Linked DNA regions of Homo sapiens: regions 2 and 3 are each linked to region 1. Evidence: promoter capture Hi-C in 16 types of primary human blood cells and fetal thymus (Javierre and others, 2016). All regions are on one chromosome and are shown on one strand. Each heading gives the region's core, a stretch centred on a gene start or on the middle of the fragment in contact. The rest is flanking DNA. Distances are from core to core; before and after follow the strand shown. Region 1 holds the start of RTN4R (reticulon 4 receptor). Region 2 overlaps KLHL22 (kelch like family member 22). Region 3 overlaps ZDHHC8 (zDHHC palmitoyltransferase 8).

Region 1 (4,492 bases), core at 1,005-3,504:
CACCCATTCCCACCCCCGGCATGGGAGCTCACTTCCTCCTCACCTCAGTAGAGAAGAACAGGGAACAGTACCCCCTTTATAGATGGGAAGACTGAGGCTTAGAAAAAGAGACTGGCCAGCCCCACTGCTTCAGCTGCCCCTCTGCTAGTATGTTTCACCCTCACACAACCTACAAGGATAACCTGCTGGTCCCCACTCTATAGATGAGCCTCTGGTGGTGGCCAGGGGAGCAGGAGGTGTGGCCTGCCAATCCAAGCCCCAGCCCAGGGCCCTTGCCACAGTGCTAGTGGGCCACCCTTGCCCATCATGCAGCATGGCATCCATCTGCTCAGCACCCTACACAACACCGGAGGTAGGGGAGCCCACCACAGAACCCCTCACCAAGAAGGTCCTCACCATGGAGAAACTGAGGCACTGGAGGCGGGGCCTCTGCAGTCACGCTGGGTCACGTGCTCCAGTCAGCCAAGCTGCAGCGGCCACCAAGGGTGCCCAGGGTCTGGCCTGTTGGTCACAGTGTTGACCTCATGGCCTGAAATGGGTCTTCCCTGCCCAGACAGGTTCCAGCCCACCATCATCTATCTGCCTCAGCCCTGGTGGGTAGGGAGTGGCTGGGAGACCCTGCCCCTCACACCCTGGGCTTTGCGGTATTCAACGAGCCCCCAACACACATTCCAGGGCCTCTGCTCCAGATTAGGCCACAGCCTGTCTAGGCACACAAGGGGCACCCACACCCTGGAGGCAAAGAGACATGCCTATGTGCCCGCAGGCACACATGATCACGCGCACAGACACACGTGCAGATGCATACCAAGTTACACACACGCACACAAGCCCGAGGCGGGGACCCCCAGGACACGGAGGCAGGCAGGCAGAGGTGGGGCCCAGGATGTCTTGCCCCTGTCTGTGGGCCTGGCCTCCCCACTCAACAGACGAGCATGTGGGTGCGGGAGTGGTTATTGCGAAAGGGGCCCCAGCATGTGCCACCCGTGGAGACCACAGCAGGCATGCCGCGTGCATGCATGTGTGGCCGTGGGTGTGCAGGCGGGGGCGAGGACACAGATATGCACCCTCAGAGTCCGTGTGTGCACCCAGTGTTTGTGCATGTGCACACTGGGGCGGCGTTGGCTTGCATGTGCACCAGAGGTGTGCAAGTGTGCAGTCCGTGTAGACAAGTGCACGTGCAAGGAAACGTGTGTGCAGCCTGCGGCACCATGGACATCAGCAGGGCAGCCTGGGTGGGCACCTGGGGAGCACCCTCCAGGCGGGGCATGCCCAACTCACATGGAGCCCACCCTCCCTTGCCCGCACCGCGGGACCTCACAGCCGGTGGGGCGGGGGAGTCCCACGAGGGCTGCTAGGGAGGGGTTGCTGATTGCCCCACCGCCCCTGATTCCCCCAGCCAAGCCTCTCAATGTCCCTCGGGCTGCAGATGGCGGGCGTTGCTGCCTCCTCTCACCGCCCGCCCTGGAGGCAGCGCTGGGACAACCCTGTCCCCCACGCCCTCTACTGCCGCCAACGCCCCCATTCATCCCACTGTGGACTGACCTCGGAGAAACGGGAGGTTCTGAGCCCAGACCGTGAGGCTGGGGTGGAGGCGGCCCGACACCCCCACCCACCCTCGGTACCCACGTTTCTGCAAAAACCCGCTCGTTAACCCCTTGGTGGCCGGGGCGCTCCGAGGCCGGGCCCCGCCCTTCCAGCCCACGGCCCCCGCCCTCGACTTGGCCCAGCATCGGGGACCCTCGGACCGCCACCCTCGGCCCTGCCGAAGCCGTCAACTTTCCCGGGAAGCGGCAACTTTTCCTGCCGCCTCCGGCTCCGCCCTCCCGGGGCCGGGGCGCCAGCGGCCCCAGCCTGGCGCGGCACTGCGGTGGCTTTCCCTGCCGCCCGGCTACGCTTCCCTCGCCTCGGCAGCCCGGGACGGGCCCTGCGGCTCCGGGGAGGGGGCGAGCCGCCCCCCTCCGCGCCCCGCCGCCGGCCGGGCTCGGGTGCAGCGCGGACACTCACCTCCAGCGGACGCCCTCTTCATCGTAGGGGTTGGGCGGGGCGCGTCGGGGACTGAAAGTCGTTTCGGGGCGGGCGCCCGTCTCCCCGCGGCCGGGTCCGCATCCAGGCGCCGCCGCTACGGCCCGGCCCCGGCCCGGCCGCGGGACGAGGCTCGGCGCGCTCCGCTCCGCCCGGCTCTGGCTGGGCTCGGGCCGCGGGTGCGCAGGGCGCGCAGGGCGCACAGGGCGAGGGCGGCGGCGGCGCGGGGGTTGGGGCGTGGGCGGCGCGGCGGGCCGGGGCGCGCAGGCCGGGCCGCAGGAGGCGCTCAGCCCGCCCGGTGCACCGGCGCCGCGCGGTCCCAGACAAAGGCGGCGCATTCCTGAAGAGGCGGCGGCCCCTGCAGGCGGCGGAGGGGATGGCGGCCCGGGCCGGAGCCGGCCGGGGACGCGGGCCCGAGGGTGTGGCGGCCTAGGCTGGCCCGGTCCCCAAGCGGGCAAGGGCTTTGTCCCGAGGCCTAGGAATGGCCTCTGCCTGACCCACTCCCTTCCTGGCCTCACGAAACCCATGAATCCCCCGCCCCCTGCACAGAAGCCCCTTGCTGCAGCACGATCGCCCCCATTTTTCAGTAAGAAACAGGCTCAGGGCTTAAGAGAGTTCTGGGGGCCCTCCTGGGCCTTTGTGGCCCTCTCTGCACCATCCTAGAGAAGGGACCTAGGCCTGATGTTACCCGTAACCCTGCAGGGGTCCCCCACCTCTTCCCTTCTGCGGAATGGGGGCTCCAAACCCAGAAGACGCTCTCCGAGGTCACCTGCTTAGTATCCCCCCACTCTACCAAGCCAGCCCCCCACGGGCGGTGTGAGGCATGGGGCCAGAGAATCCAGTGACGCCCCTGCACACACCACACAGGGGTGCAGGTGTCCCTTCTCAATCTTCTGCTCGGGGCACCTACCGGGCCTCACCGATGAGCTCCTAAGTGCATCCCGGGGTCTTCAGACAACTGCCAGGCTGCCCCTGCACCTGGAGAAGTGCTGGGAGTCAGCTCAGCCGGGCTGGGTCCTCCCCAGGCCCACCCTGCATGAGAGGACCATGCAGATGAGGGTCTTGCAGGCCCACCTGGTGTCAGTCTGTAGGACCCTGACTCAAGGACGGAGTGGGCCAGCCTGATGCCTTGATGGCCCCCCTCAGAGCCCAGGTCCACTGATATGAAGCAGAGAGACCTGGTGACTGGGCACCCCTGTGCCCTCTGCCTGCCCCTGGCCATGGAGGTGGCCCTGAGGGAGATGAGCAGGGCGCAGGGCCGGTGACCTGCCTGCCTTGTGCAGAGGAAGTGAGGACCTCCCAGAGCCCTGGTGCTCCCATCTGATCCCAGTGGCAGGCAGCTTCGCAGGGTGGAGCCATGCTGGGTGGGCCCTCTGCCTGGTGTGGAGGCTGCACTGCCCACATGCCTCTGGCTGCCGCTCTGTGGCCCTCATCACTTTGGCCTGCTTTATCCCTATCACCCTTGTCCCAGCCTAGGCTTATGAGGGCATTGTGGAGTGCATGCCATTCCCAGCCACACAGAAGGTGAGGTGGGGCCCAGACACCCCCAGCCACTCTGTCCCCTGGCCTCCTGAAGGGGTGGGCTGTGCACACACTGCCACCTCCCCAGAGGGTGCTGGCTGCCGAGTGCCACCAGCTCAGCCCCTGAGGTGGCTCAACAGGTCCTCCCAGAGCCACACCAAGACGTCATCACCCATTGCACAGATAGGGAACCTCAGGCGAAGCTCACAGAGCCAGTGGGAGGCTGAGGCCTGACCCCCAGACAAGCATTCTTCTCCAGGGTCCCTGCACACAGCAGCCCCCAGGCTAGGAACTGAGCTCTCTCCACAGGGATGTATCAGACCCTAGATGAGTCACGTGGCACTGACCATCAGTCTGAGGACAGCGCTGGGGTGGACCAGGCTCCAGTCTCGGGCTGCTCTGTGCTTGCAGAAAGGCCTTGAGAGGACACTTGCTTGCTTACTCCGCAGGCGTCTCTTCAATTACCAGTGACCCAGAGCAGCCCACTATAGCTGAAGATTGTGACCCCACACCCTATCTCATAGGTTTAAAGCCCCTCCCACCCCTCCTGCCGCAGCCGAAGTGACCATTCTGGGGCATGGGATGGGCATGGGGTGAAATGGGGAGCAGGGGTGGCCCTGGAGGCTTCTGGCACCAGCACCCTCTCCAGCCACCAACCTGGCTGTTCCCGGTTGCTCTGCGCTGGGACCTGGGCCTCCACCTCCCCACAGGTCTCTGCATGGGAGCAGGGCTGAGGCCTGCAGAGGGAGCGCTGGGGGATGGGCTGGTTTCCTGTGTCCGCCACCTCGGTCAGCACGTTGGCCAGCACCCTCCCCACTGGAAGCTGGGCCCACTCCTGGGTGCTAGCTGGGATGGTTAGGCGTCGGCCAGCGCTGATAGGGAGTTATGGGGGTGCAGAGGCAGAGTTGAGCAGGGCTAGGCAGCCGGTGGGTCTGCTACCAGCAAG
Region 2 (4,492 bases), core at 1,204-3,703, 190 kb after region 1:
GATTTAAGATGCTAATGAGACATGCGATAAATACACTAGCACGTAGAGCCACAGTGCATGCGCTGCTAGAAGACCACCCAAACAAAACATGCTTATGAGTAACACCTCTTCCCGCCCATTTATGAATAATCATGTAAGCCTCCTGTAAGGGAGGTTTCCCATGCCAGTTGGGGCGATCTTATTCTGGAGCAGCCTGCTCTGACTCGGCCTTCAGAATGTACCTTCACTTTTGCAATAAACTGCCTTACACTTATCTTCGTTAATGCATGTCTCTTGCTTAAAGTCTTAACCAAGAAGACAAGAACCGAGGACACATTCCCAGTAACATTTCCTCCCTCTGTAAATGGCAGGTCTAATTGACATCTCCTCAGATGGACATTCCCCAAAAAGTCCCTCTAGATTCATCCTACCAGAGCCCCCTCCCTGGAAATCCTCCAGTTCAGCCCCCTCTTCATTTCACTTACCATAATTGTAACCACTTTACTGATCTGTTTTCTGGTTAAGAGTGGTTTCTCCTACAAGGCTGTAAACACCATGGAGTGGGGAGTCTTTCTCATTTCTTGTCACCACTGGATTCCCAGGACTTGGTACATGGTGCTTAGTAGTTGCGGAATGAATGCGTGCATGAAGGAACACCGGCAGCCACGATGCAGCTGGTTGAAAGCCAAGGCTGCCCCTCTGTGGCCAAGCTGGAGAACTGCTGCTTCCCCAGCTGCCGCAGACAAAGAAACTGCTAAGCCCCTCCCACAACACCCACCTAGGAGGCTTCCCCCAACACCCTTCCTGGAACAGAACCCAAGAGCCCTCCTTGTCCACTTGGTCTCAAGGACCTCCTGATCTTCTCCATGCAAAATCTGCTCCTTTCCCCAGGATGGGGGTACGGAGTGTCCTTCCAAAGAGGCTTCCTTCTCCCCAAAGAAGCTGAGAGCAAGGAGCAGGCCACAGCTTGCAGCTCACAGCTGCCCAAGAGACAGAAATCTGTGTGGGCTGTGTGAATGACCTGGATAAAGAAGAGCTGGATCCATTGAGGAGACACTAGCCCTGACCCCTGAAGTCAAAGTCTAAGTCCCTGGGGGAATTGGGGGTCATGAGAGATACTGGAAAGAGGCTTACAAAGGCCAGAGCTCTTGCTAAACTCCCTGAGGCAGTGCAGGTAGAACCTGCCCCCCATACCATCCTCTGCCTCTCAGGTGCTCGGTTATCCCCAAAGGTGTACCTGGCCCATAGCAGGTGCTCCACAAATGCTATGCCAGTACTAGCGGGGTGCCCTGCTAGGGTACCCCTAGTACTGCTAGGGTATGCCCTGTTCTCGGAGGCTGAGACCCAGGAAGTAGGGGGCCAGCAAGGCCTGTTCCTTCCCTGGGATCCCATGTCTGGTTGTTACACCAGGCCTGAGTACCCCAAAGTCGTAAGATAAAAGAGAGGCACCTCCCTAAAACATCATTTTTCCATAATGAACATAATTTTAAACATCTTCAAATTGGAATAAACCAAGGTATTATATAGGATGCACGTGATTTTTTTTTCAAGTTGTCCCAATATTCAAACATAGGATTTAATATAAAAAATAAAACCTTAGAGTGTTTCTTGGCTCTGGAAGGCGCCACCCTTCAGGGGACCTAGAGGGAAGAGGTCTGAGGATAGGCCAGTGAGCTCTCAGGGTCCCTTCCTGTTTAACATCTCTGGAAGTGTCCCAGCTCGTCTCAGCTGCACAAAGAGCAAATGTTCTATCCACATTTGAACTACAAGGTTTAAGCAGCTTGCCAGGGCCAAGGTGGTGTGACAAGGTCTCAGCATGTAAGACTCACAAGTGGGGCACAATTCTGAGCAATGGGGTCTGGATCCTTGATGAGCCTCCCCAGGTGGACTGGCTGAACCTCATGGGGCCTCATCAATGCATTCAATGCAGGGTCTCTGGAGAAGCATGGATTCTGCTCACTGAGCCTGTTTCTCTGACCTGGGACAGGCCTTGACACCTAGGCCTCTCACTCTTTGCACATCCTGGGGAAGGAAATTAGGCAGGAGAAGGCCCCTCTTCGAGGGCTTCCTTACCTCCCTCTTGAGTGGGGCCACGTATGCCCAGGAGTTGGTGGCAGGGTCGTAGCGCTCCACAGCATTCAGGTCATTGTGGTAGTCACGGCCCGCCACAGCGTAGATGTACCTGCCTACAACACACACGGACAGGTCGGCGTGCTCCTGCTGCAGGGACTGGATCTGGAACCAGCGGTTGTGCCGTGGGTCATACCTGTGCCGAGACATGAGGAAAGCACAGCACTGACTAGGCAGGGAGGCTGCTCCGCAGGCTTGCACCTCTTGTTCTGGTCCCATTTCTGCTTTGCCTCAGCCCAGCCTGAACCCTCCCCAACTACCCCACATACCAGTGCACACCGATCTACAGCCAGGCCCACAGGCTGTTACACACCTGAGCACAGGTGCTCCCCACCACACAGCATGGAAGGAATGGCCAGGAGCCTCCTGTGTTTCCACCTAACTGTCCACCTGGGCTGTCCAATGGCTCTTTTTTTTTTTTTTTTTTTTTTTTTGTGGAGAGAGGTCTCTCTGTCCCCTAGGCTGAAGTGCAGTGGCACAATCATGGCTCACTGTAGCCTCGACCTCCTGGGCTTAAGTGATCCTACCACCTCAGTCTCCTAAGTAGCTGGGACTACAGGTGCGCACCACAACGCCCGCTATTTTTTTTTTTTTTTTTTTTTTTGATAGAGACAAGGTCTTGACACCTGGGATATGGACTTAGGCAATCCTCCTGCCTCAGCCTCAATGGCTGTTCGTACAGCCACTTCCATCTCACTTACCTCATCTCATCATCCACATAGCCTTGCTCCCACTCAGGAGGGCCTCCAAATACAGCCTCTCCACTGGATGGGTGCCATCAGCCCCCTCATTGGCCTCCAAGCCTTGAACTTCCCCCAGCACTCCATCAGGAGTGGTCTTCTCAGGCACGCCCTGCACACAGCACCCATCATACCCTCAGCTTTGTCAACAGCCGCACACACAAGGCTCTGGTCATCGTACTTTCACCTCCTCCCACCATGCTGCCAGCCCCGCGTTTCCTGACCTCCCCTCCACTCAAGGTCTCCCTCTCTGGGAAAGTGGAAAGGGTTAACTCCCACCCTGGACTGCAGGCTCTGTAAGGGCAGGGTGTGTGAGATTCCAGGGACCCCCATGGGAGAAAAGGCACTAGACTGGTTGCGGCAGGCCCACGAGGGTGGAGGAGTCTGGCCAGGACCCAAGGAGGGCTCCTGGGCTGAGCACCAACAGGGAGCATGGCCTGCAATGTGGAGCAGAGATGATCACAGAGCCATGAGGGGCCAGGACCCAGTGAGCTCAAAGCCAGTATCTGAAGTGTCCTTGCCCAACAGCCCACAGATAGTTACAGCCTCTTTCAGACAAGTGTTTTTATTTCTGCAGAGGAAGACCTATTCCAAAGAGAACAAGTCTAACTTCAACTGGCTCACAAGAGAGTAACCAAAGTTTTCTTTGGCCTGTGCCCTATGCTGGTTAGTGAAAAGATCAGTTTCATCCTTTGCTTCCTGCAGCCCCTGCAGTGTGGCCAGCCCCTCCCCGCCGCCTACCAGGAATGCAGCAAACAGGAGCCTCAGAAGGCAGGGCCAACAAGAGAGGGAACACACACCTGGGTCTCCCTGACCTGGTGTGAATCCTGGGCTCTTCCCTGTCTAGCTGGGTGTGCCTGGGCATCAGTTTTAATCTCTTGGGATTCGCTCAGTTCTGCACCTGTCCAATGAGGTGATATCACCTGCCTAGAAAAGCTATCAAGAAGAATCATAAAAGACGAGCATGAAAAGTGTCCTTGTTAACTTGGGGGTTCTGATGGATCATGGTTCATTTCTATATTCCTAGACCTCAGTGTAGCCTCTGGCTCAGGACAGATTATGTTCTGTCTGCTGAATGAATTAAACAAAGGAGTAAGATTACCAGCAATGAATCATTCATTCACTCTACCAACATTCCCAGGTCTCCCACTGTGGATGGGGCACAGTGCTCAGCACTACATCCAGAGGGAGCCTCAAGAGGTCAGGGCCCTGCCTTCCCCTGCAGAATGGAAACAGGCTAACCAGAGCAAATGAGTGCTTAATATAATGACAGACACTGTGAAAGAAAGAAAGGGAGGTAAGAAGATGAGTGACCTGCTGGTCAGCGGGGCCTGGGGAGGGCAGAGCTCCCTTGCAGTGATCAGGAAAGGCCTCCTGAGAAGGCAGGGTCTGAGACCTGCATGACCTGGGGCACAAGCCAGAAGAAGGTCTGGCAGGGGACCAGCAGTCCAGGATTGGGGCACAGCACTCACAGGGGCCCCGTCAACTGGCTGGGATGGTGCTGTTCACTGCCTTTCCTGTGCGCCTTCCTCCTTTATATACAAGTCTCTCCTCTCTTGTGTTCAGTCTGGCTCAATCACCATCTGCACCCCAAGTGTCTGCAACCAGAGTGAGATAGGACCCTCCATGTGCTCCTGTTTGCT
Region 3 (4,492 bases), core at 867-3,366, 130 kb before region 1:
GCCAGCCTTCCCCAGAAGGCTCGTGGAGAGCTCCACAGGCCCTGCCTCTCCCTGGGGGAGCTGCTCACCTGCCTGTGCCCATCTTGTTGGGCCGACCCTGCCTTAGGGGCCTGTGGTCCTGGCTGAATGGCGTTGCATTGGAGGCCAGGCACATGTTTGAGTGCTGCCTGTGTGCCAGGCAGGGCTGGGGAGGGTGGAAGGAAGCCTGGGGGCTGAGCCACTGGGCAGGGACAGGGAGAGCCCTCCCAGCAGAGGGAGGTGTGGCCGCAGCTGTGTCCTCACCCTGGTGTCTACCTCCACGGGCTGGGCCCTGGACAAGAGGAAGGGTAACTTGGGCTCCCAGCCCCGCCGAGGATGGCTGTCGTGGGAAGCGGAGTCTTTAAATAGCCTCTTGCTTTCCACTAAAAATAGTGAAGCTCTGCTGCCGTGGAGGTGGTTGCCGGGGCGGCGGGGCTGGCTCTTGGCCAGGCGGGCGTGGGTGCAGCAGCGTGGCCACGTGCGCTGGAGTGGTAGGCAGCGCGTGGGCCCCATCCACTGCTAGTGGCCATAGAGGTCAGGGCTGCTGTGGGGGATCCCCACTAGCCCCCCGACTATGCAGAGGGCCTGGGTGCAGGGAGGGACGCAAACCCCTGTGTTCCTGTCCCTGCTGCTTGTCACAGCAGCTGTCTCAGGGTGCGCAGGGGAGAGACAAGGAGCCTGAGGCCAGAGGGGCTTCTTGGAAGCTGAGTGGGTGGATTTAGGAACCCGCTGCAGGCCGTGTGGCCCGAGGACCGGCAAGTCTCTTCAGAGGGGACTCGGGCCAGGCCCGTTAAGGGCTGAGGAAGGCGCCTTTCAGGAAGGTGTGTGAGGGCACACCTTATAGGGAAGCTGCAGAGGGCAGCCTGGAGTCCTGGAAAGCTTCCCGGAAGAGGGGGTGGCCTTGGAGCCAAGTGCTGATGGCTGGGAAGATGGGAAGTGGTGGGGGGTGTTGTGCATTCTAGAGTCCCTAAGTGTTCTACTTTGTCATCTGGGGAGGGAGGTGACAAACTAAAAAGAAGGGGCTGTCTGGATGGGGATGTGCCTGACTGGGAAGAGTAGGGGAGACATGCCCCATGCACTTACTGACCAAGGACTGGGGCTCCCCACACCCCAGAATCTGCCTGGTGAGAGGCCCCACTGGGCCAGGGACAGGCCTGGATGAGGCATCGTGGCGCATTTTCCATCTGGGGCTCCCACCTCCAGCCTGTGTACCGCCCCCGCCCCCTACCCCGCCCCAGTCATGGAGCCTAGGTCGCTGGAATGGGGTGACCTTAGGTCTGTGGGCCTCTCTGAGACGGCTGCCCTGAGAGGTTGCCGGGTCAGGGCACGGGTAGCCCACATGCTGTACTGATACGCACAGCCTCTGGCCGTTACTCGAAGGAGCGATGTGGCTGAGGTTTCTTGGCAGGGCTGTGGCAGCCTCCCCACTGCCTCTGAGCTCTGAGGGTGACCTTGCAGGCCCAGCCTGCCGCACCACATAGCTCTGCGCCTGCATCCGCTCTGCACCCCCAGACTCCACTCTCTGCCCCCACTGTCTACTGCAGGTGCCCGTGGTTGACACGAGCTGTGTCCCCAGCTGTTCCCGTCTACAATGGCATCATCTTCCTCTTTGTCCTGGCCAACTTCAGCATGGCCACTTTCATGGACCCTGGTGTTTTCCCCCGAGGTAGGGCCCTGTGCTGCGGCAGCTCCTCTCACTTTCACTAGAGTGTGAGTGGCTAACTTGAGACAGCCTTAGGGATTCCTGGTGGGTGGGCTGGACTTGGGGGAGGGATTCACCTGCCAGGAAAGTCAACTTCCTGCTCACTGCCTGGCTCCTGGTCTGTAGCGGATGAGGATGAGGACAAGGAGGACGACTTCCGGGCTCCGCTGTACAAGAACGTGGATGTGCGAGGTATCCAGGTCCGCATGAAGTGGTGTGCCACGTGCCACTTCTACCGCCCGCCGCGCTGCTCCCACTGCAGCGTCTGTGACAACTGTGTAGAGGTGACCGCCCTGCTGCCCCGCGCTCCCCCAGCCCTGTGCCACATCCCTGCCTGCCATGTGCCCTGATGCACTGCTCCCGCCCAGGACTTTGACCACCACTGCCCCTGGGTCAACAACTGCATCGGGCGTCGAAACTATCGCTACTTCTTCCTGTTCCTGCTGTCACTCAGTGCACACATGGTGGGCGTCGTGGCCTTCGGCCTGGTCTACGTGCTGAACCACGCTGAGGGGCTGGGAGCCGCGCACACCACCATCACGTATCCTTGGTTCCTGTGGGCCTCATTGCAGAGGCGATGTGGACCGGGGACACGTTCACCAGGGAGATTGAGCCTCAGAAGGCTTGGTTCCTGCCCAGGGATCCCCAGTGGGCAGGTGGCCGTCCCTAGGTTGGGAGGAGGTTTGTCCACAGGCACCTGCTCTGTGCTGCTGCGATGGGGTCTGCGGTGTCCTGGCCTGCACCGTTGGCCTTAACGGGCTAGCATGGCTGTCATGTGTGTGGCCGGCCTCTTCTTCATCCCTGTCATTGGCCTCACTGGCTTCCATGTGGTGCTGGTCACTCGGGGGCGCACCACCAACGAGCAGGTGCAGACCCCATGGGGGATGGGTGGCCCCAAAGGGCCGAGAGAGTTGGGGCTGCATGGGGACAGGGTGGGGGCTGGGGCACCCTTGCCTGAGGTAGCTTGTGCAGCTGTGTTGAGACGAGGCTCCAACTCTGAGACCCCCACGTGGGGCTACGCCTGCCCCGTCCCCTGCGCACATCCTGCCTGTGGACACTGTGGCCACCAGTGACCCAGAAATCCCACAGCTCCCTGCAAGTTCAGGCTGGGTAACCTATGTGAGGGGCAGCCCTGGGCTGATCCCACCTAAGCCACTTCCCGCAAGTATCAGCTTCTAAGGAACCCCAGCTCCCTTGCCCAGCCCCCTGCCCACCCTGGCCTGGACCTTGGGAGGCCAGGCTGGCTGAGGGTCCTGCATCCACAGGTGACTGGGAAGTTCCGCGGGGGTGTGAACCCTTTCACCCGAGGCTGCTGTGGGAATGTGGAGCACGTGCTGTGTAGCCCCCTGGCGCCCCGGTGAGGCCCGGCCTGGGCAGGGTGGAGGGGGGCCTCTGCTGGGTGTGGGGCGGGCAGCCTTAGACCCTCTTGGTCCGTTTGGCTCTTGCCAGGTATGGCCAGCCCTGCCCTTGTGTGTTTGTGGCAGGTGGGCTGGCTACTGACCCCTGTGCCCTGGTGCAGGTACGTGGTGGAGCCACCCCGGCTGCCGCTCGCGGTGAGTTTGAAGCCGCCTTTCCTTAGGCCTGAACTCCTGGACCGAGCTGCACCGCTCAAGGTCAAGCTTAGTGACAACGGGCTGAAGGCTGGCCTGGGCCGTAGCAAGGTGGGCGCCTGGGCTTAGGGATGGGCTGGCAGTCAGGCCCTTGGATGGGGAAACAGGCAGGTTGGTGGGGGCCTAGAAGAGGTGGATGGGGCAGACAGAGCCGTAGACAGATTCTTGGGAGGGGGCTAGGTCCCAGGCTGAATCCCTAGTGAAGCCCTGCCCCTCATCCAAGCCCCACACACCACTGACCCCGCTCCCTCCCAGTCCAAGGGCAGCCTGGACCGGCTGGATGAGAAGCCACTGGACTTGGGGCCACCACTGCCCCCCAAGATAGAGGCTGGCACGTTCAGCAGTGACCTGCAGACCCCGCGCCCAGGCAGTGCTGGTGAGGTTGGGGCAGCCACGACTAGGGAGGGATATGGGTTGACCCTCCTCTGACCTCAGTCTGACAGTGGTCTGCATCCCCAGAGAGTGCCCTGTCGGTGCAGAGGACCAGCCCCCCGACACCTGCCATGTACAAGTTTAGGCCGGCTTTCCCCACGGGTCCCAAGGTGCCCTTCTGTGGACCAGGCGAGCAGGTAAGGAGGCCTAGCCTGCCCCCTGGCAGGCCTCGTCCCCCAGGCCCGCCTCTAGGAGCTCGCCCCACAGCCTTCACCCCGTGAAGGCCCCACCTCCAGAGCCCCATCTCTCCAGCAGAGGCCACATCCCCTGAGGCCATGCCCCTCAGGGCTCTGCCTGGGTCACCAAGGGCCTTGTGTGACTGGTAGGACCCTGTCTGTGTGCACCCAGAGCTGGGACCCACAGAGGGGAGCAGGGTGTCCTGGGAGGGGCTGGCGTGGGCCATCCAGGCTTGGCGTCTGTCCCTTGGCCAGCATTGCCCTAGGCCAGGTGGGCGGCTGCCCCCAGGAGCACTGTGTACCAGGATGCCTGGAATTCCACCATTAGTCACTCTGTAAGGCCCACGGGAAGACTTTGGAAGAATTTGAGACGTGCTTGAGAAAGCACATTTCTCTTCCCTGAGTTGCATGAGTGCTCTGTGGTCACTGGAATGGTGGGCAGTGCGGGGCGGTCTGTGCAGTGATCAGGAACACCAAACAGTCCCAGGGTGCCATCCTTCCTTCTGGGCCACCCCGAGAGGCAGGCCTGTGACTGGGCCCTGTGCACCTAGACC

The links. Contacts are between HindIII fragments. The CHiCAGO score rates a contact against its expected background, and 5 or more counts as called.
Region 2: a fragment that was not itself captured here is called in contact with the fragment with the promoter of RTN4R in region 1 in 5 of 17 cell types (M0 macrophages, total CD4 T cells, M2 macrophages and 2 more); the score reaches 8.1 in M0 macrophages.
Region 3: a contact is called between a fragment that was not itself captured here and the fragment with the promoter of RTN4R in region 1, in 4 of 17 cell types (M0 macrophages, M1 macrophages, fetal thymus and 1 more). The highest score is 8.5, in M0 macrophages.

What each region holds. Positions count from the first base shown.
Region 1 is chr22:20,266,064-20,270,555 of GRCh38, forward strand. RTN4R (reticulon 4 receptor) reads right to left here and starts at 2,255. Exons shown (of 2, transcript NM_023004.6): 1 at 2,008-2,255. The coding sequence starts at 2,029. RefSeq lists an enhancer at 1,099-1,787 and silencers at 1,999-2,158, 2,249-2,408, 2,459-2,518. The HindIII fragment of the contact is 20,492 bases long and covers 1-4,492 here.
Region 2 is chr22:20,455,756-20,460,247 of GRCh38, forward strand. KLHL22 (kelch like family member 22) reads right to left here. Exons shown (of 7, transcript NM_032775.4): 5 at 2,053-2,245. Among named protein-coding and RNA genes, the nearest start is that of SCARF2, 20 kb to the left of the region's middle. RefSeq lists an enhancer at 509-1,010 and a silencer at 3,975-4,173. The HindIII fragment of the contact is 5,197 bases long and covers 1-4,492 here.
Region 3 is chr22:20,137,632-20,142,123 of GRCh38, forward strand. It overlaps ZDHHC8 (zDHHC palmitoyltransferase 8), which reads left to right. Exons shown (of 11, transcript NM_013373.4): 2 at 1,563-1,684; 3 at 1,847-2,004; 4 at 2,089-2,261; 5 at 2,484-2,586; 6 at 2,986-3,077; 7 at 3,240-3,381; 8 at 3,586-3,706; 9 at 3,790-3,899. Among named protein-coding and RNA genes, the nearest start is that of ZDHHC8, 8.1 kb to the left of the region's middle. RefSeq lists an enhancer at 1-552. The HindIII fragment of the contact is 2,442 bases long and covers 896-3,337 here.